Linked DNA regions of Homo sapiens: region 1 is linked to region 2. Evidence: promoter capture Hi-C in 16 types of primary human blood cells and fetal thymus (Javierre and others, 2016). All regions are on one chromosome and are shown on one strand. The core of a region is centred on a gene start or on the middle of the fragment in contact, and the rest is flanking DNA. Distances in the headings are between cores, read along the strand shown. Region 1 overlaps ZNF704 (zinc finger protein 704). Region 2 holds the start of MRPS28 (mitochondrial ribosomal protein S28).

Evidence for each region. The method cuts DNA at HindIII sites, captures the fragments that hold promoters and counts their contacts. A CHiCAGO score of 5 or more calls a contact.
Region 1: a contact is called between a fragment that was not itself captured here and the fragment with the promoter of MRPS28 in region 2, in 1 of 17 cell types (fetal thymus). The highest score is 6.0, in fetal thymus.

What each region holds. Positions count from the first base shown.
Region 1 is chr8:80,869,499-80,872,459 of GRCh38, reverse strand. The region is part of intron 1 of ZNF704 (zinc finger protein 704); the gene reads left to right. Among named protein-coding and RNA genes, the nearest start is that of ZNF704, 3.8 kb to the left of the region's middle. The HindIII fragment of the contact is 1,981 bases long and covers 453-2,433 here.
Region 2 is chr8:80,028,744-80,031,538 of GRCh38, reverse strand. It overlaps MRPS28 (mitochondrial ribosomal protein S28), which reads left to right and starts at 1,280. Exons shown (of 3, transcript NM_014018.3): 1 at 1,280-1,503. The coding sequence starts at 1,291. All of the region lies in intron 5 of TPD52-MRPS28 (TPD52-MRPS28 readthrough), which reads left to right. It also overlaps a transcript of TPD52 not described here. RefSeq lists an enhancer at 1,128-1,557. The HindIII fragment of the contact is 3,845 bases long and covers 277-2,795 here.

The DNA of each region.
Region 1 (2,961 bases), core at 194-2,693, 840 kb before region 2:
AAAAAAAGCTTTGGGGGCTCACCAAAAAAAGCTCCTCAAAGCTTGAAGTTGCATTTCCAAAGAAATGTTGAACATCGGCAATTAGAATAGCCCCAGAGTAGATGTGGGCAGAAATTTATTTCCTAGACCACCCTGGAAGTACCAGCTCTGGGAGTGAGAAATTTTCAGCAAGTAGTTATTTGGGATGATAGTTTTTGACAGCTGCTTGTTGAAATCCAAACCGTGACCACATTCATTACCATGGTCTGTTGAAAAGCCTGCATTGTATGGCTACAAGATATAGCTGGGTTTGAAATGAAGTCACATGGTGTCAGTGACATTGAATATCAAGAGTAGTGACTCCTTAGCATTTTTGTCCAGAAATACTGAAAGTGTGTCCTGTGGTTTGAATAGTGATTGCACAATTTGTGATAGAAACAATAATAATTTATGCTCTGTGATGAAAACAAGCTTAATATAGGGAAAAAATCAAATCCGTAAAAACAGAATAATGAGTGTGATAATTCACTTGATCAGTAAAGGTTTTTCACATCTTCAAGTAAATTTCCTTTAAATTCTTTCAAAATGGGCTTCATTTTATAACACTCTCATTTGCCCACAACTTCAGAAATTTACACAGAATGTTGGAGTCATTTGAGGTTTATCTTTTAAATTACTCTTTTAAAGACACTGTATCTGAAGAGATTTTCTAATGGAATATCACTAGATAATTTTATTATAATGCATATACGAATGTTAACCTCTTACATATATTCATGCATTCATTTATTCAACAAATATTTATTGAACACCTATTATGTGCTAGCAGCTATTCTAGAACATAGCAGTGGACACCTTCCTGATGCTCACATCTAGTGAGAGGCATCATAGCAACAATCAAATACATAGATGCAGATGTACATGCATAAGCAAGAATAACACTTCAGATTGTGGTGTGTCCTGTGAAGAAAATCATGATATCTTAGAGTTTCAAAGGAAGAAGAGAAAGCTACTGTGGGTGAGATCTCTCTGAGGAGGGAACATTTGACCTGAGATATGAGACATTTCGCATGGGAAGAGCTTTCCAGGCAGAGGGAGTAGCAGTTGCAAGTCTTGAGGTGGAAAGGAGAAAAGGGTGAGTGTGGCTGGAACTTGGTAGGTATGAGATATGTCAAGGAGGCTGGGAGGTGCCTGCAAAGAGAGCCTGGTGGGCCCTTTAAAAGGATAGTGAAATCTTTGAAAAGTTTTAAGCAATAAAGTCTTACAAGGTAATTTGTAGTTTTCAAAAGATCCATGCTGTGTGGAGGACAGTAGTAGAGGCAGGGAGGCCAGTTGGGTGGCTGTCACTACACAGACCAAGGGAGGGAGAGGGCAGCTTGGAGTTAGAGATTGGCAGGAGATGGCAAATTCAGAATCTATTGTGAGGATCAACCTACAAGAACTTGTGGATGGGTTGGTTGATGGGTAATGAAGGAAAGGGAGGAATCCAGGATGAGACCATGATGTAAATGTTGGTTGAAGGTACCATTTACTAAGATTAGGAAAACCGAGAGAACAAAAATCAGGTTTTCTGTTTTGTGCATGTGAATTCTGAGATGACTATTGGACAACCAGGTGGAGGGTGTGGTTAGGCAGATGGTGGTGAGATGGGGAGTGGATAGGAGAGGTCAGGGATAGTGGGAGGAATTTGAGCGACATCAGTATGTTAATGTCATGTAAAGCCTGGGGGCTTTAAGGGAGTGCAGGGGGCCAAGAGAGGAGAGCCTGGGGCCTGATTCTGGGGCACAGCACTATTTAAGTTTGGGTGTAAATGGAGAAGCCAGCAAACACTATTGAGAAGCAGCAGCCAAATAAGTAGAAGGAAAACTAGAAAATCTAAAGTCCAATAAGCCAAGAGAAGAAATAGTTCCAAAAAGTGGGTGGGGAGTAATGAACTGTATTGAATGCTGCTGAGATATAGAATAAGAAAGAGAGAGAGAGATGTTCATTTGGATTAGATAAGATGGAACTTACTAGTGTCCTTGACAAGAGAAGTTTGAGTGATGTGCTTGGAGTAGGCTGAGCAGCCGATGAGAGGTGTGGACAGAGGGACACAGGAAAAACTCTTTTGACAAGTTTTTTGGAAAGGAGAACAAAGAGGAGGAGGAATAGCTGGAAGGCCTATGGCCTAGGTTTTTTTAAAAGATGGGATACAGTAGACCCTAGTGTTATGACTAAAGCATCATGGGAATTATGTGGAAGAGGGGTTATTAGTTTTCTATTGTAGTGTAGTGTAACAAATTACTACAAATTTTTTTTTGCTTTAAAACAGTTCTTAGAGTTTCTGTGGGTTAGGAGTCTAGGCTCAGCTTAACTAGGTTTTCTGTGAAGAGTCTCACAAGGCTGCAATCAGGGTGCTACATGGGTTGAGTTCTCATCTGAAGGCTTGACCAGGGAATAATTAACTTGTAAGCTTACATAGATTGTTGGCAGAATTCATTCCCTTGCATCTGTAGGACTGAGGGTCCTAGCTTCTTGCTGGTTATCAGTTGGAAGTTGTTCTCAGCTTGTAGAGCTCTTCTCCCCCTCCCCTTCCCTACTTACTGCTGTTTTTTGTCACATGGGACTCCTTAGCTTGGCCTCTTACTTCATCAAGCCAGCAAGGAGAATCTTAGAGCCTGCCTGCCAGCAAGATGGAGCCTTGCATAATGCAATGTAGTCAGGAGGAATAGGCCAGAAACTTGGCCATATTCTGTTGGTTAGAAGTAAGTCACAGGTTCCACCCACAACCTAAGGAGAGGGAATTTTACAAGGTTATAAACACCAGGTGGTGAGGATCATTGAGGGGTCATTTAGGGAGGAACCAAAGATGTAGAGAAAAGAAAAAACTACAGGAGGAAAGTCCTTGGAAAGCCTTAGGGAGGGAACCTGAAACCCAAGTAAAGGGCTGGCCTTTGGGAACCTTCCTCCATTAGATTGGAGAGAAGATGGAGAATATGAGTC
Region 2 (2,795 bases), core at 31-2,530:
TACAATTTACCACACTTTCTCCTGAAAAAAAGTGGAAGTAGCACTATCCGTAGAAAATAATGTTCTAGGCAAGAGTCCATTAATAGTCTCGGGAGATAAACAGTTTTAACTGCCAAGAGGGAGAACTCACCTGGAGAATTTAATGAATTTGTAAGGACTACCATACAGTTAGCTAGTAATAATTTTATGTGATTCATACAATTGTGCACCATTCTGAGATCAGTGTACTTCGTGTTCTTAACACTATCTGTACCATTAGAGAGCATCAGAAAAGCTTAAAACCCATAGTCAAGGCATTCTTAAAATAGGGTCTGTGATCATAAAAATTCTTTCTCTCGAAGTACTTGCAAATGAACTGGAAAGGTGTGTGCCCCCAAAATAAAACTAACTGTGGATTAATATTAAACTGCTGGGTCAAAGATAGACGGACAACTAATTAATAAACACTTAAGAATGATGTTAGGCTGTTTTGAACAGGGTGGGTAAATTTTGGGAATTAACACTGCAGGAGAAAAGGGAAAGAAAATCCAGAGTGAGGGTGGGGGCCTACGGCGGTGCAATACTTAGGGACATTCCAAAACTTCTGAACTCCTAAGTTAGATAATAGGTATCTAGAGGTGTCAAAACATTTCAGAAAAACTATTTTTGTGGCGTGAGTGGACTGGCTGCAGAAGTGGCAAAGGACAAACTTGGATGCAGGGTTTGGCAAATGTTGGGTGAGCCCTAATCTGTGCCTGGTGCTAGGGACCCTACAGCAAAGTTCCTCTTTTCAAAGTTTAAAAAGTTGGGAGTAGACACTAAATATTATTAAATATTTAATATTAATATGTGGCATATTAGAAAGTGCTACATGGTACTAAGAAAAACAGGTGCCAGAGAGTCTGCATTTGGGCTTCCACTTCTAAATAGGGTAATCAAGGAGACCCTCATATTTGAGTGAAGACCCCAAACTCGAGTGCTGGCGGCCATGTAGGGGGGACGGCAGGGCGGGAGAACGAGCGTCGCGTTAGCAGAATTTACAGTACAATGGGGTCCAACGGATGCCCAGGAAGGCGAAATTCCTGCAAGTTAAACGCACTTCTAACGCAAAACTTAACCAGGCCCCTTTCCAACTATTTAGCCCACCAATTTTAGCTTAAGTCTCTTCTTCCCCACGCCACTCCCAGATGAAAGGAAGACACGCCTCGTTGGCCTCCAGAGCTCTGCGTCCGGGGGGCGGACCTCTCATAGCTCCGCCCCGTGACCCGCGCGCTTGCGGAGGGGAGGTCAAAGGTCAGAGGTAAAGAAGTCATGGCGGCGCTGTGTCGGACCCGTGCTGTGGCTGCCGAGAGCCATTTTCTGCGAGTGTTTCTCTTCTTCAGGCCCTTTCGGGGTGTAGGCACTGAGAGTGGATCCGAAAGTGGTAGTTCCAATGCCAAGGAGCCTAAGACGCGCGCAGGCGGTTTCGCGAGCGCGTTGGAGCGGCACTCGGAGCTTCTACAGAAGGTGGAGCCCCTACAGAAGGTGGAGCCCGGGCGGGTGAGAGGGAGTCGCGGGAATTACGCCAACGACGCGGTGGGCGGGGTCGGGAATAGGGGCGGAGCCTGGCTTAGGAAGGGGAGCTGAGGTCCGGGGCCCAGTTTTCCGGAGTTGCGGTGCGTTGTGGCTCAGCCCTCGGCCCCTAGAATCTGTGCTTGGTGTTTTTCTTCCTTTCGTTGTCCTTTTGTGTGGCATTTGCGTACTGGGCCGGGTCTGTCCACACTGCGCTTGTTTTCCTGGGATTGAATGCTGGTGGGAAGGTAACCAGCGGGGAGCGCTGCTGGGGAGGCGATCTAGGGCGATTCCTGGGACGCTAAGGAGAATGGGACTCACACGGAGAGGCAGGGCTCTGCTGGGTCTTGTTCTGAACAGTAGCTCTAGCATGGAGCTTGCTGTCTGGAGTAGAAGGCCCTTCATAAACATTTGTTAATTTAATGACTGGGTGATGAATCACTTTCTGAACTTGGGCAAGTGATTTAACTTGTCAGCGCTTCACCTCTCTTTTGTAAATGTCTTCTTTTTTTAAAAAGTAAAGTAAAATCTCCGTTTGTCTCAGCCAGTACTTTTGTAAAATACCATAAATTTATAGATAAATGAAATGGAAGAAATAAAATTACAAGCCTAAGTTTTTAATAATTAAACTCAGCAGACATGAAATTGAATTATATACAAATAAACTCTCAATTTCTGTATTTTTCTTCCTAGGGAGTAGTACCAAACAGTTCACAAGACTGGCAGTGTCCTGGGTTATAGGGTCATTTTAGTAGCAATTACTGATGTCAAAATTTTTCTGAAATCCAAGGACTAGAAGAAGCCTGGTATATTAGTTTATTATTTTCTGTTGTAACAAATTACTACAAATTTAGTGGCGTAAAACACAGGAAATGTGTTGTTGTTAGGGTTGTGAGAAGTCAGACGGGATCTCACTGGTCTAAAATCAAGGTGTTGGTGAAGTTGTGTTCTTTTCCGTAGCTTCTAGGAGAATCTCTTCCTGGCCTGTCTTTTCTGCCTCTGTTTTCTACTTTTTTGTTTTTTGGATTTTTTTGTTTGTTTTGTTGTTTTTTGAGACAGGGTCTCGCTCTGTCACCCACGCTGGAGTGTGGTGGCATGATCTCAGTTCACTGCTAAACCCCCTGGGCTCAAGTGATCCTCCTGCTTCATAGCTGGGACCGCAGGTGTGCACCACCACTCTGGGCTAATTGTTTTTTCTGTTTTTTTTTGTAGAGATGGGGTTTTGCCATGTTGCCCAGGCTGGTCTTGAACTCCTGGGTTCAAGT